Regions from separate parts of the Homo sapiens genome. Here all the other regions are linked to region 2. Evidence: promoter capture Hi-C in human tissues and cell types (Jung and others, 2019). All regions are on one chromosome and are shown on one strand. Each heading gives the region's core, a stretch centred on a gene start or on the middle of the fragment in contact. The rest is flanking DNA. Distances are from core to core; before and after follow the strand shown. Region 1 overlaps INVS (inversin). Region 2 holds the start of ALG2 (ALG2 alpha-1,3/1,6-mannosyltransferase). Region 3 overlaps MSANTD3-TMEFF1 (MSANTD3-TMEFF1 readthrough).

The links. The method cuts DNA at HindIII sites, captures the fragments that hold promoters and counts their contacts. A contact is called where the count stands out against the background at its distance.
Region 1: a fragment that was not itself captured here is called in contact with the fragment with the promoter of ALG2 in region 2 in 1 of the 25 tissues and cell types used here (heart left ventricle).
Region 3: a fragment that was not itself captured here is called in contact with the fragment with the promoter of ALG2 in region 2 in 1 of the 25 tissues and cell types used here (aorta).

What each region holds. Positions count from the first base shown.
Region 1 is chr9:100,236,310-100,241,194 of GRCh38, forward strand. INVS (inversin) reads left to right here. Exons shown (of 17, transcript NM_014425.5): 6 at 3,751-3,931. Among named protein-coding and RNA genes, the nearest start is that of TEX10, 110 kb to the right of the region's middle. The HindIII fragment of the contact is 6,226 bases long and covers 1-4,600 here.
Region 2 is chr9:99,218,950-99,223,837 of GRCh38, forward strand. It overlaps ALG2 (ALG2 alpha-1,3/1,6-mannosyltransferase), which reads right to left and starts at 2,993. Exons shown (of 2, transcript NM_033087.4): 1 at 2,598-2,993. The coding sequence starts at 2,945. It overlaps SEC61B (SEC61 translocon subunit beta), which reads left to right and starts at 3,333. Exons shown (of 4, transcript NM_006808.3): 1 at 3,333-3,417; 2 at 3,597-3,694. The coding sequence starts at 3,415. RefSeq lists enhancers at 1-82, 3,083-3,402. The HindIII fragment of the contact is 4,819 bases long and covers 1,503-4,888 here.
Region 3 is chr9:100,565,718-100,570,238 of GRCh38, forward strand. The region is part of intron 8 of MSANTD3-TMEFF1 (MSANTD3-TMEFF1 readthrough); the gene reads left to right. The region is part of intron 8 of TMEFF1 (transmembrane protein with EGF like and two follistatin like domains 1); the gene reads left to right. Among named protein-coding and RNA genes, the nearest start is that of CAVIN4, 10 kb to the right of the region's middle. The HindIII fragment of the contact is 7,104 bases long and covers 1-4,521 here.

The DNA of each region.
Region 1 (4,885 bases), core at 238-2,737, 1.0 Mb after region 2:
TTTAGCTTGGAGGATTTTATTACCCACCTTCTGAAGTCTTCTTCTGTCAATTCATCAAACTCATTCTCTGTCCATTTTTGTTCCCTTGCTGGCAAGGACTTGTGATCTTTTGGAGGAGAAGAGGCATTCTGGTTTTTGGAATTTTCAGCATTTTTGCACAGGTTTTCCCTCATCTTCATGGATTTATCTACCTTTGATCTTTGATGCTGATGACCTTTGGATGGGATTTTTGTGTGGGTGTCCTTTTTGTTGATGTTGATATTATTGCTTTCTGTTTGTTAGTTTTCCTTCTAATAGTCAGGCCTCTCTTCTAGGGGCCTGCTGGAGTTTGCTGGAAGTCCACTTCAGACCCTGTTTGCGTGGGTATCACCAGCAGAGGCTACGGAACAGTAAAGATTGCTGCCTGTTCTTTCCTCTGGATGCTTTGTCCCAGATGGGCAACTGCTAGATTCCAGCTGGGGCTCTCCTGTATGAGGTGTCTGCCGACCCCTGCTGGGAGGTGTCTCCCAGTGAGGAGGCACAGGAGTCAGGGACCCACTTGGGGAGGCAGTCTTTCCCTTAGCAGAGCTCAAGCACTCTGTTGGGAGATCTGCTGCTTTCTTCAGAGCTGGCAGGCAGGAACATTTAAGTCTGCTGAAGCTGTGCCCACAGCCACTCCTTCCCCAGGTGCTCTGTCCTAGGGAGATGGGAGTTTTATCTATAAGCCCCTGACAGGAACTGCTGCCTTTCTTTCAGAGATGCCCTGCCCAGAGAGGAAGAATCTAGAAAGGCAGTCTGGCTATAGCGGCTTTGCTGCGCTGTGGTGGGCTCCGCTCAGTTCAAACTTCTTGGAGGCTTTGTTTACACTGTGAGGGGAAAACCGCCTACTCAAGCCTCAGTAATGGTGACACCCCTCCCCCCACCACGCTCAGGCATCCCAGGTTGACTTCAGACTGCTGTGCTGGCAGCGAGAATTTCAAGCTAGTGGATCTTAGCTTTCTGGGCTCCAGGGAGGTGGGACCCACTGAGCAAAACCACTTGGCTCCCTGGCTTCAGCCCCCTTTCCAGTGGAGTGAACGGTTTTGTTTCCCTGGGGTTCCAGGTGCCACTGGGGTACAAAAAAGAACTCCTGAAGCTAGCTCAGTGTCTGCCCAAACGGCCACCCAGTTTTGCGCTTGAAACCTAGGGCCCTGGTGCTGTAGGCACCCTAGGGAATCTCCTAGTCTGAAGGTTCTAAAAACCGTGAAAAAAGTGTAGTATCTGGGCCAGATACCGTCCCTGCCGGCACTGTGCATCACGGCTTCCCTTGACTAGGGGAGGGAGTTCCCTGATCCTTTGTGTTTCCCAGGTGAGGCGATGCCCTACCCTGCTTCTGCTCACCGTCTGTGGGCTGCACCCACTGTCTAACCAGTCCCAATGAGATGAACTGGGCACCTCAGTTGGAAATGCAGAAATCACTCACCTTCTGCATTGGTCTCACTGGGAGCTGCAGACCAGAGCTGTTCCTATTTGGCCATCTTGCTGAGTTGTCCTCTTGACTCCCTTTAGTATAGATCTTTCGGTGGTCAACTCTCTCTGGTTTTTTGTTTGTTTGGTTTTAGTTTTTTTGGGACAGAGCCTTGGGCTGTCTCCCAGGCTGGAGTGCAGTGATGTGATCTCAGCTCACTGCAACCTCTGCATCCTGGGTTCAAGTGATTCTCCTGCTTCATCCTCCTGAGTAGCTGGGACTACAGGCACATGCCACCACGCACAGCTAATTTTTATATTTTTAGTAGAGACGGGGTTTCACCATGTTGGCCAGACTGGTTTTGAACTCTTGGCCTCAAGTGATCCACCTACGTCAGCCTCCCAAAGTGCTGGGATTACAGGCATGAGCCACCACCCCCAGCCAACTCTCCTTTTTAATTGTTAAGAATGTATGCCTCTTGAAAAAAAAATGATTATCCTGTGTACACAGTCCTAGGAATCTATTTTTCTCAGCTCTTTCAGCATATTATTTTGCTACTTTCTGCCTTTTATTATTGCTCTTAAGGAGTCTGTTATTGGTCTGTCATTCCTTTATACATGATGTATCTTTTCTCTCAGGCTGCTTTTACATTTTGCTCTTTGTTTGGCATTCTACAGTTTTACTACAGTGTGTCTAGGTGTGGCCTTTTTAAAAAATCCTGTTTGGTATACATTCTGATTATTGCATCTCAGTTCTGCCAAACATATATAGCTGTTATCTTTAAATATCACCTCTCCTTCATTCCCTTTACTCTTGCCTTTAGGGTCTCCAATTATATATCTTTTAAGGCTTTTTATCTAATCCTCCATGTCTTTTAACTTCTCTTTTATATTCTCATCTCCTTGTCTCTTTCTGTTGCGTCCTAGGTAATGACATCAGATCTGTCTTCGAGTTTACTAAGTTTTTCTTCAAATAAGTCCAACCTGTTGTTTACCCTATCCATTGAACTGTTAATCTTTGTGATGACATTTTTCACTTCTAAAAGTTCTATTTGGTTCTTTTTCAAATCTGCCTGGTAATTTTGATAATGCTTGCTATAAAGATCCAGTAGAAAAATTAATTAACATTGTGAACTCACTAATAAACACATGATTAAAAAATCTCAACCCCATTCATAAATGAACTACAAGTTAAAATAGCAGTGAAATGTCTTTCATAACCATAAGGGAAAAATGCAGTAAGCTTGATAATACCAAATGATTAATTTCTGCCAGCATGTAGGGAAATAAAAACTTTTACATATTGTCATGGGAGTGTTAATTGGTAAGACCATTTGGAGAGTGATGTGACAATACCTGTTTGAAGATATCCTTCACCCCAGCAGTTCCCCTTCTAGCTGTCTAGCCTATGGAAAAATCTCACACATGTGCTACAAGGGATATGTAAAGGAAACATTAATTGCAGCATTGTCTGTAATAGTGAAAAAAAATGGGAATAGCCTAAATGTTCCTCAGTAGGAAAATAGATAACTATATTGTGGTTTATTCAAGCACCTCAATAATTGAACTATTACCAACATAGATATCCAAGGTATAGTGTTGAGAGAAAGAATTGCCAAAGGATACATGTCCGTTGCCATAATGTAAACATTTGAAAACACACATACAAAATTTATATATTGTTTATGGATACATACATATATACAAAAGTATAAAAACATACATCTTTAGTTGAATGATAACAGAAACAAAAGCATATCAGGCAAAATGTTGACACCTTTTTAATCTAGATAATCAGTATGTAATGGTTATATTATTTTCTGTACTTTTTATAATTAAATATGAAAATAATTTTTTAAAGATTTAGACTTTGTACCTTTTCCATGATTTATCACTTGTGCTGAGAGATAATGTAGAGGTCTTATTTCGAAAATTCCTCAGTTAATTCCTGTGCCAGGCTGGGCACAGTGACTCACACCATAATCCCAGCATTTTGGGAGGCTGAGGTAGGAGAATTGCTTGAGCCTAGGAATTCAAGACCAGCCTGAGAAACATGGCAATACCCCATCTCTACAAAAAACACAAAAATTAGCCAGGTGTGGTGGGATGTGCCTGTAGTCCCAGCTACTTGGGAAGCTGAGGCAGGATTGCTTGAGCCCAGGAGTTTGAGGCTGCAGTGAGCTGTGATCATGCCACTGTACTCCAACCTGGGTGACAGAACAAGACCCTGTCTCTAAAAAAGAAAGAAAGAAAAAAATACTTACACCAAATGTAATTTATTGAGGATTCCATGTATGTCTGAAGTCTCTGGTTCCTTCAAATCAGGATGCTGCTCCAACAGAGTCTTTACTGAACTGGCAAGACTACGAGGGTCGAACTCCTCTTCACTTTGCAGTTGCTGATGGGAATGTGACCGTGGTTGATGTCTTGACCTCATATGAAAGCTGCAATATAACGTCTTATGATAACTTATTTCGAACCCCACTGCACTGGGCAGCTTTATTAGGTACGTGACTCAAAGGATCAACAGTAAAAGGAACTTCATGAGTATAGGAATATTTCTGTGCCTTCCCTTCCACTGTTTACTCCCAACTCCTAGTTAATTATTTTGATTTCTAACTGATATGTTGCATTGTTTTATAAACTAAATTATAGTAATATAAATTTATTTTATGTTAAATATTAGTTTTAATTTCAACATCATATCTTCACTTTAAATTTTTGTTATAAAAGTAATTCACATTTAGTGACAACATGTGAATGTAACATAAACCTCTTTTCACATTCAGCGCCTATATTTTTGGGGAGGAGGGCTTTAATTTTATGTTTATGCTAATACTATGATATTTGAGTTTTTTTCTTTATATTTTCCTGAAATGCCTTTTACTTAACCTTTTTGAAGATCACTTTTATAGATGAGAGAGTGTATATATGTGTATGTTTTATGTGTATGTTGGGGTTTTTTGTGTGTGGAGTCAATCTGAGAGTCTTTCTCTTTCAATGAAGGAGTTTTACCCATTAATAGTCATTGTTATAAGATAAATAATCAGGTCTTTTTTTTTCCTGCTATCTTTCTATTCTTAGTGTTTTCAGCTTAACGTTTTGTTTTGTTTTGTTTCCTGTTTCCTTTGCTTTCTGCTCTTTGGTATATGGATTAGATTTGATGTTGTTATTTGATTTTGAATTGCCTAATGTTTTAGGAGGGTTTAGGAGTGGCTACTTTTAAATTTATCAAAAACTTTTTAAAGCCTGAATCAGAGTCAAGAGCAAAAATGCATCTATTGATTCCCACCTATTTAAGACAAAAAATTTAGCACAGATACTCATCACTCTTTTAGTACTTGTTAATGTAATCTGAGATTTCCCCCTAATTATTATAATCTTGATCTTAGTTTTTAAATTACACATTATCTTTTTTTTAAATGATGTTTATATGTGCACTCACTTTTATCGCCAGATT
Region 2 (4,888 bases), core at 1,743-4,242:
CTGATTCTGTTTTATTCCCCAAGACTCTCACCCAGTACCATATGCCTGGTGTACAGAAGGCTACAGACGTTTGCTAGATGTGTGCTAAACATTTAAAGCTTCAAGTCCAGTGATTTCCTCTTGTATAGTGCTGTCTAATAGAAATCTAGTAATATTAAAAATGTTTTTAAGGGTGAAATTAATTTTAACATATTATTTACCGAAAACATTATCATTTCAAAATGTAACCAATACTAAACAGTATTAATGAGATACTTTATATATACATATATTTCACATTACATCTTCAAAATCGGTTTGTATTTTAACTTTAGCACATCTCAGTTTAGACTAGCCACATTTCAAGTGCTCAACAGCCACATGTGGCTAGTGGCTACCATACTGAACAGTGCCGCTCTAGGATCTTTCTCCTTCTAAGGAACTGAATGAATGAACTATAGTAGTTTAGAGCACAAGCTCTAGATTCAAGACTGCCAGGGTTTGAATCTCAGCTCTACTAACTGGCCACGATCAAGTAATTTATCCCACTCTGGGCCTTAGTTTCCTCTTCTGTAACATGGTGACAAATTATAGTTCAAAAAACCCATATACTTTTTGTGATTATTAAATGCACTGATATATGCAAAACACATGGAGTTTAGCACACAGTATGTGCTCAATAAATATTAAAGCTAGTCATCATTGAGCATGAACTACATGCTGGCATTACTACAGACTTTCTTGTTGGGTAATCTTTACAAGTCATTTTAGTCTCAGCTAACTTAAAACCTGAAGAAGGTAACTTTAGGGATAATGTGCAATTTATTCAAAGCCACTTAATTAAAGCAGTAGATACGGAACTTGAATCCAAGATGCCTATTTCCAAGCCAATAATTTTTCCTCTACCCACTATAGTCTCAGCTGCCTCATGTCTACTGACACATGCAGGATGTTTGGTAAATGTCCACGTTACTTAAAAAGAAAGCTTCCATGCAAGCAAGGATGATCAAAAGTAACTCAGGAGTCATAATTAAAGAAACACAAATACAAATGTGATGCCATCTGCACCTATCAGTTTGGCAAAGTTTAAAATGGTTAATATCCAAGGCGGACAAAAGCATGGAGTAAGAGGCTCTATCATACATTGTGGGGGAGTAAAGTGACACAGCCTCCTTGGTAGGCAAACTTGGCAGTAGCTATTGATATTTAAAATGAACAACTCTTAGACCCACCAACTTTAGGAATTTCCTCAAACGACATATTTGCAGAAGTACAAAAATATTTTAAAAAAAAGAAGTAAAAGGATGTTCATTACAACACTGATCTATTCACAAAAAACTAGTCACAACATTAGTGTCCTTTAAGGAGAATGTTTAATTATGACACACTTAAACAAAAGTGGATTTTCTGGCCACTATGAAGAATGAAGTGAATCTCTAATATTGATACATAAGAATGTCCCGGCTGGGCGCAGTGGCTCATGCCTGTAATCCCAGCACTTTGGGAGGCCGAGGTGGGCGGATCGCGAGGTCAGGAGTTCGAGACCAGCCTGGCCAACATGGTGAAACCCCATCTCTACTAAAAATAGAAAAAATTAGCCGGGCGTGGGGCGCGCACCTGTACTCCCAGCTACTCTGGAGGCGGAGGTTGCAGTGAGCCGAGATCGCGCCACTGCACTCCAGCCTGGGAGACAGAGCAAGACTCCGTTTCAAAATAAATAAATAAATAAATAAATTTTTGCTGAAAAAGATGCCTAATAGTAGGTATGTCATAATACCAATTATGTACCAATAAGAAGATATAGATATACCTATGAAAAGACACAGGCTGGTGTCACCACAACTTCTGAAAAAATACAAGAGAAACTTAACGGTGGCTATCTTCAGGGAGTAGAATAGGACGGGGCTTTTAGGTTACATCCTTCTATACTACTAAATTTTTAATCGAGTAAATGTTACTTTTTAAAGTCATCTTTTTTAGGATGGGGAAAAATGCACGAAGGAAAGAGTCAAGAATAGCTACAGGGCAGATCCAGGTGGACATTATTTACCAAGGTAAAAAGCTTGAACTTTTCTCCAAAAACCAATGGGGAGCCATGTACAAGTTTTAATAGGGGCATGATATATTCAGCTTGGCGTTTTTAACACATGACACTGCTGAGGACGGTGTGGCCTGGCTCCGAACACAAGGACAGTGGGATGCAAATGGCCTGAAAGGAGAGTCAACAAAAATAACAGGTAAGCGGGAAGACAACACGCGAGTTACTCATTAGTAAAAGGTGACTGAAGCTGACTTCTAATACCAGCGTTTCTCAGAGCCCCAAAGACTATCTACCTCGGAATCACCCTATGACCCAGTTAAAATGCAGATGTCTGGGCCCCACCTCAGGGCACCTGGATGAAAACTTCCTGGAGGATGGAACCCCAGCAATCTGCAACTTTAAATGGGCCCACACTAAAGTTAGAGAACCACAGGCTCGCTCACAACCCTGACTTCTCCATGTCAGTTCCGATCTTTGCGAACCGCAGACAGGGAAGGTCTTCTCTCAGGGGTCATGCCCGCGGCCGCCCTCCACGGCGAGGTCCGCACTCGCGCAGCCGGCCCCGCGGCCGCCTCACCTGGTCGCACACTACCACGTCGAACTCCTCGTCGGCGAGGAACAGCACGTAGAGCGCCAGGAAAACCATGCGCACGTAGGCGCAGACGGCGGCGCCGCGGCCGCCCCAGCCCAGGCCTCGCGGCAGCCAGTCCCCGGCACAGCGCACCGGTAGCTCGCGGCTCTCGGCGAAACAGTGGCCCGGGTCGTAGTGCGCTGTCCAGATCTTCACGCTACACCCGCGCGCCTGCAGCGCCAGCGCCGCGTCCAACACCAGCCGCTCAGCGCCGCCCACGCCCAGGTCTGGGTGGAGGAACAGCACCGACGGCTTGGGAACCGAGTCCCGTTCCCGGCCCTGCTCCTCCGCCATGGCCCTGGAGCCGCAACTGCACCCCGCACCCTGATGGGGGTCTTCTGCGCAAGCTCCGCGCTCGTAGCTCCCAGCTGGCCACTGCGGGCCGACCCCGCCCTGCCGTACGTGCGTCAGTTAGGCCACATCAGCGCAAATCTGTGAGGGTCTAGTAACTGCCTGAGAAAATATCTTGTCTGACCCCGGTTATATTTTTCCTTCGGTAGGGATTGGACTTTCTGAAGGACGTTGTGATCCAAAGGAAGGAGGCCGGAGGTCTCTACTTCCCATACAGCAGGTAACTAAGTTGTCTGTAGCAGACTGTCTACAGGCATATCGTGAGACGACCCAGGCGTCCCTGGGGTCAGAGAGGACCTTGCCTGCAAGTCCGGGGGCGGGGCCTGAGTCAGTCTCGCCAGCTGCCGGTCTTTCGGGGGCTCCGTAACTTTCTATCCGTCCGCGTCAGCGCCTTGCCACCCTCATCTCCAATATGGTATGGCGGCCCTTCCATGATCCCCGCCTCTCCCAGAAGCCCTGACTCCTCCTGCTTTGCGCCGTGCTTTTCCTCTGTAGCTCCCTTGCTTCCCCCAGCCTCGGGTGTGGGTGTCTAGGCCGGGGTTCTGGGGCAGGCCTGCCGCGCTCACCCGTCTGTCTGCTTGTCTCCCTCTACAGCCTGGTCCGACCCCCAGTGGCACTAACGTGGGATCCTCAGGGCGCTCTCCCAGCAAAGCAGTGGCCGCCCGGGCGGCGGGATCCACTGTCCGGCAGAGGTAAGGAACCCTGCAGTTCGTTCGCTTCCAGACTCGGAGATAGGACCCAGAACCTCGCTGATTCTGGGGTGGAGACCCTAGCATGTGAAGATTGACAAAGGCAAAATGAGCTTCTAGTGACGTGGCCGTGGGAGTAGTTAAAGGCCTTTTGGGAGGAAGGCGACATTTTTTTTCTCGTTGCTCAGTTTAGGGCACTACTCTTAAAAAAGGAAAGTTAACAAACTGGAATAGAGTCAGAGATAACTTTGAGAAAACCGATGTCATTAAACTGGTGTCTCTGGACCTGAGGTTTGCACTCACATTTCCATCTGGCGGCCCCATAAGCAATCTGTCCTACAGATAACTCGTCCTACACAAAACTTAGTCTCTTTTCAGCTCAGCTCTCTCACTCTCAATTATATCTCCTTACTTCCATATGGCACTGTTGTACACTCATTTACTCAGAGCCAGAAACGTCAGCGTCATCTTGGATTTTTCTTATGCTCTTTCTCTCTCTAGTCATATGCCAGACTTTAAACTCTGCTTGAAAGCTTTCTCATAAGCTCTTTCCTTTTCCCTTTCTACTGCTTTGCATTTGCTACTTAACCCTTTTCTTCAGGCTGTTTGCTTTCCAGTCCATCGTTCGCTCTGCTGTTACTCTTCTGCGTAGTTTCTGTTACTTGTTGCTGAACTAAAAAAAACAAACAAACAAAAAAAAAAAACCGGGGGGATACCAAAGCTCTTAGTGGTCATTTCAGCCTAACCTTTCTTTTTCCTTTTTTTTTTTTTGGGATGGAATCTCACTCTGTCGCCCAGGCTGGAGTGCAGTGGCACGATCTCGGCTCACTACAGCCTTTGCCTCCAGAGTTCAAGCAATTCTCCTGCCTCAGCCTCCTGAGTAGCTGAGACTGCAGGCACGTGCCACCACACCCAGCTAATTTTTTGTATTTTTAGTAGAGACGGGGTTTCACCATGTTAGCCAGGATGGTCTCGATCTCCTGACCTTGTGATCCTCCGTCTCTGCCTCCAAAAGTGCTGGAATTACAGGCGTGAGCCACTGCGCCCGGCCTTCAGCCTAATCTTTCTTTGCTGTCCTATGATCCAGCACTCGTGAACCCATTACTGTTTTCTGAATTCACAAACTTTCTCCCTCATCTCAAGGCAAATTTCTACTTATTTTCCAAGACTAAGCTCAGGGGTTATTTCCTCTTGAGG
Region 3 (4,521 bases), core at 31-2,530, 1.3 Mb after region 2:
CTATCACCTACCAGCAAGCCTCTCCCTGTTTCTCTGTATCATAGAACTTGATATCAGTATATCTCATATATATTGATAAACTTTTATTTATTCCATCTTGGAAAAAAACTCCTCATTCTCATTCCCACCAGTTACTGTCCTGTTTGTTTCCTTTCCTTCATAGAACTCAAAAGAGTTGTCTAAAGTCTATCTCCAGTTCCTCACTTCCCATTTCTCTTGAACTCACCCCAACAAACTTTTGTCCCTAACACTCCACTGAGACTGTTCTCATTTCTAAATTCAGTGGTCAGTACTTAGTCTCAAATTACTTTTGAATGATCAGTGCATTTGACACACTTGTTCACCCCCTCCTGTGTGATATGCATTCTTCACTTGGTGTCAAGAATTATACTGTCTCTTGTTTTTTTCCTACTTCGCTGGATGTTCCAGTTTTCTTGGCTGCTTCCCACTTTGCTCCTTGACCTCTCAATGTAGTAGTGTACCCGGGTTCAGTCCCAGTCCTCTTCTCTTACAGATTCTGTCCAGTCTCAGGACTTCCCATGACATATGCTAATAACTCCTAATTTACATAAATCCCAGACTTCTCTACTGAATTTGAAACTCGTAGATCCATATGCCTCCTTTACATTTCCACATGGACGTCTGACACCTCAATCTCAACAGGACCAAAGCTGATCTCCTGATCTGCTCTCCCTCCCTAAACCTGCTTTACCTGCCACCTTCTTCATCTCAGTTGATTCCAACTCCATCTTTTCAGTTGCTCAGACAAAACACCCTCTGATGTATCTCTGACTTCTCTTTCGTATCCAATCAGCTGGGAATTCTGTTTCAGAATATCTCCAGAATTTGGTTACTTCTCACCATTGCCAGTGCTGTTCCTAGTGCAGGCCAATGTTTTCCTGGGATTTTTGCAGTAGCTTCCGTGATTGTATTCTACAGTCCATAATCAAAACAGCAGACAGTGAGTGCCCCCGCCTTTTTTCTTTTTTCTTTTTTCTTTTTTTTGAGACAGGGTCTCACTCTGTTGCCCAGGCTGGAGTGCAGTGGTGTGATTTCAGGTCACTGCAGCCTCCACCTCCTGGGTTCAAATGATTCTCATGCCTCAGCCTCCTGAATAGCTGGGATTACAGGCGTGCACCACCACACCTGGCTATTTTTTGTATTTTTAGTAGAGATAGGGTTTCAGCACGTTGGCCAGGCTGATTTTTGCATTTTTTTGTAGACAGTTTCATCATGTTGCGCAGGCTGGTCTCGAATTCCTGACCTCAGGTGATCCACCTGCCTTGGCCTCCCACAGTGCAGAGTGAACCTTTTAAAATAAAAGTCAGTTCGTATCATTCCTCTGCTAAAATCCTTCCAGTGGTTCCTTCATCTCACTAAGTGCAGAAGGCCCTACAGTTTTGTCTCTTCACCTCTCTGTCTGGCTCTCCTCTCCCTCACCCCCTCTTCTGCAGCCACACTTGCTGTTCTTGGGCATGCCATGCATGCATGGATGCTCCCACTTTAGGGGACTTGCACTGGCTCTTCCTTTGCCTGGTATGCTGTCCTCCAATTGTTTGCATGGCAGGCTCCTCACCTCCTTCAAGTCTTTACTCACGTGTTACCTTCTTAACCTACCCGGATTGCCTTATTTAAAATTGCAACCCTCCCTTCCTGCAACTTTCCTGGCTCATACCTGGTGTTCGCAGTTTCCCTTAACACCTCACACCCCACATCCCCTGTAGTGCATATCACCTTCTAACATAACCATTTAATTCACTTACTTTGTTTATTGACACTCTTCTCCCGGTAGCTGGTAAGCAGGCCAGGGATCTTTATCTGTTCTGTTCACTGATACATCCCAAATGCTCACCACAGTAGGTGCTCAATAATTGTGGTAAATGGATGTGTGAATGAATTCACACGTGAGACAGTGGGAGTGAATGGGATTGCCTGTGGAAGGTGTTTTGGGATGAAAATAGAAAGTGGAGGACTGAATCCCTGGATCTGCCTTTAATCAGTAACAGAAGAAGAAGTAATAACCTAGAAGTTAGTACTCTAGGTATTAGGAGAGTGTATTAGTCTGTTTTCACTGCTAATAAAGACATACCCAAGACTGGGCAATTTACAAAATAAAGGGTTTAATTGGACTTACAGTTCCACGTGGCTGGGGAGGCCTCACAATCATGGGGGAAGGCAAAGAGGAGCAAGTCACATCTTACCTGGATGGCAGCCAGTAAAGAGAGGGCCTGTGCAGCAAAACTCCAGTTTTTAAAACCATCAGATCTCGTGAGACTCATTTACTGTCACAAGAACAGTGCAGGAAAGACCTGCCCCCATAATTCAATCACCTCCCACTGGGTTCCTCCCACGACACATGGGAGTTGTGGGAGTTACTATTCAAGATGGGATTGGGGTAGGGCACAGCCAAACCATATCAGATAGTATAACCAAAAGTCAGTTGGAGAAAATGATATCCAGGGAGAACTGCAGGGATGATATATGGCCTATTGGTTCTTTTTGATACTCTGATTTTAATCTTTGGCTTAAGCCAAACCATTAGAGAGCTGCATATCTAGGACATTGTTACAGCTCCTTATGGAACTGTTTTTATATTACTGAGCTTTGACTATTGGCCATTAGCCTACCATGAAGGACATTATTTAAAAAATCCCATGAGACTTCATTATATCATTGAATTTACTGCAGCTGTGTTGTTGAGGATAATGTTCTTTATGTTAGAAGGTGCCCTCTTTAAATGAGGACCAATGAGATTAAGTTCCCTTAAGTTTCATAACAGTAATAACTGTGCTTCTTTTGAATGACTTGTTTGATTTTATTTTATGGAGATTGTATTTTGTGTCAACTGTCCTCCCTCCCTCCTTCCTTCCCTCCCTCTCTTCCTTCCTTCCTTCTCCATTGGTGTTTAATATATGCACAGAGTTGTGCAACCATCACCACAATCAATTTTAGTACATTTTCATCTCCTCAAGAGGACACCTCATACCCTTTAGCTTTTACTCCCAAATCCCCTCATGCTCTCTAGCTCTAGGCATCCGCTAATTTATTTTCTATCTCTATAGACTTACCTATTCTGGATAGTTCATGTAAATTGAACTATATAGTATGGGGTCTCCTGTGTCTAGCTTTTTTTAACTTAGCGTAATATTTTCCAGGTTCATCCATGTCATAACACATATCAGTACTTCATTCCTTTTTGTGGCTGAATACTATTCCATTGTATGGATGACACCACATGTTTTTAATCTACTCATCATCAGTTGATGAAAATTTAGGTTCTTTCCACTTTATGGTTATTATGAAAAATGCTGCTCTGAATGATCATTTGCAAGTTTTTGTGTGAACGTGTTTTAATTTCACTTGGGTAAAGCTTAGTGGTAGAATTGCTGGGCCAAATGGTAACCCTGTGTTTAACATTTTGAGGAGCTGCCAGACCGTTTTCCAAAGTGGCTGCACCATTTTACACACCCTACAGTACCTTTGACAACACTTGTAATTATCTGACTTTTTGATTTAGGCTATCGTAGTAACTGTAAAAACTGGCATATACGGTGGCTTTGATTTTTATTTCCATGATGGCTAATGATGTTGAGCATCTTTTCATGTGCTTATTGGCTATTTGTATATCTTCTCTGGAGAAATGTCAGTACACATCCTTTGCTCTTTTATTTTTTGGCTATTATTGAGTTGTATTAGTTATTTATATATTCTAGATATAAGTCCCTTATCAGATATATGGAACTTACTTTTTTTTTCCATTTTGTGGCTTGTCTTTTCACTTTCTTGATAATGTCCTTAAGTACAAAAGATTTTAATTTTGATTTAGTGCTATTTATCTTTTTTGTTGTTGTTGTTGCTTTTGATTTTTGGTGTCATATCTAAGAAACTGTTGCCTAATCTAAGGTCACAAAGATTTACTCCTATGTTTTATTCTCTTCTAAAAATTAAATTTATTTAAAAATTGACAAAATTATGTATACATATTATGTACATCATATTTGGAAATATATATACATTGTGAAATGTCCAATCAAGCTGATTAACATATGCATTACCTCACATTGTTACCACTTTTGTGGTGAGAACACTTAAAATCCTCAGCATTTTCCAAGAATACACTGCATTGTTAACTATAGTCACCATGTTGTACACTACATTTCTTGAACCTATTCCTCCCATCTAACTGAAATTTAGTATCCCCTGACCAACATGTCCTCAAAGCACCTCCTACCACACCAGTCCCTGGTAACCACTATTCTACTCTCTACTTCTATGAGATCAACTTTTTTAGGTTCCACATATGAGTGGGATCACTCAGTATATGTCTTTCTATGCTTGGCTTATTTCACTTAATATAATGTTCTGGAGGTTCATCCATGCAAATGATAGGATTTCCTTCTTTTTTATGGCTGAATAGTATTCCATTTTGTATATATACCTCATTATTTTATCCATTTATTTGTTAATGGACACTTAGATTAAATCCATATCTTAGCTATTGTGAATAATGCTGCAATAAAC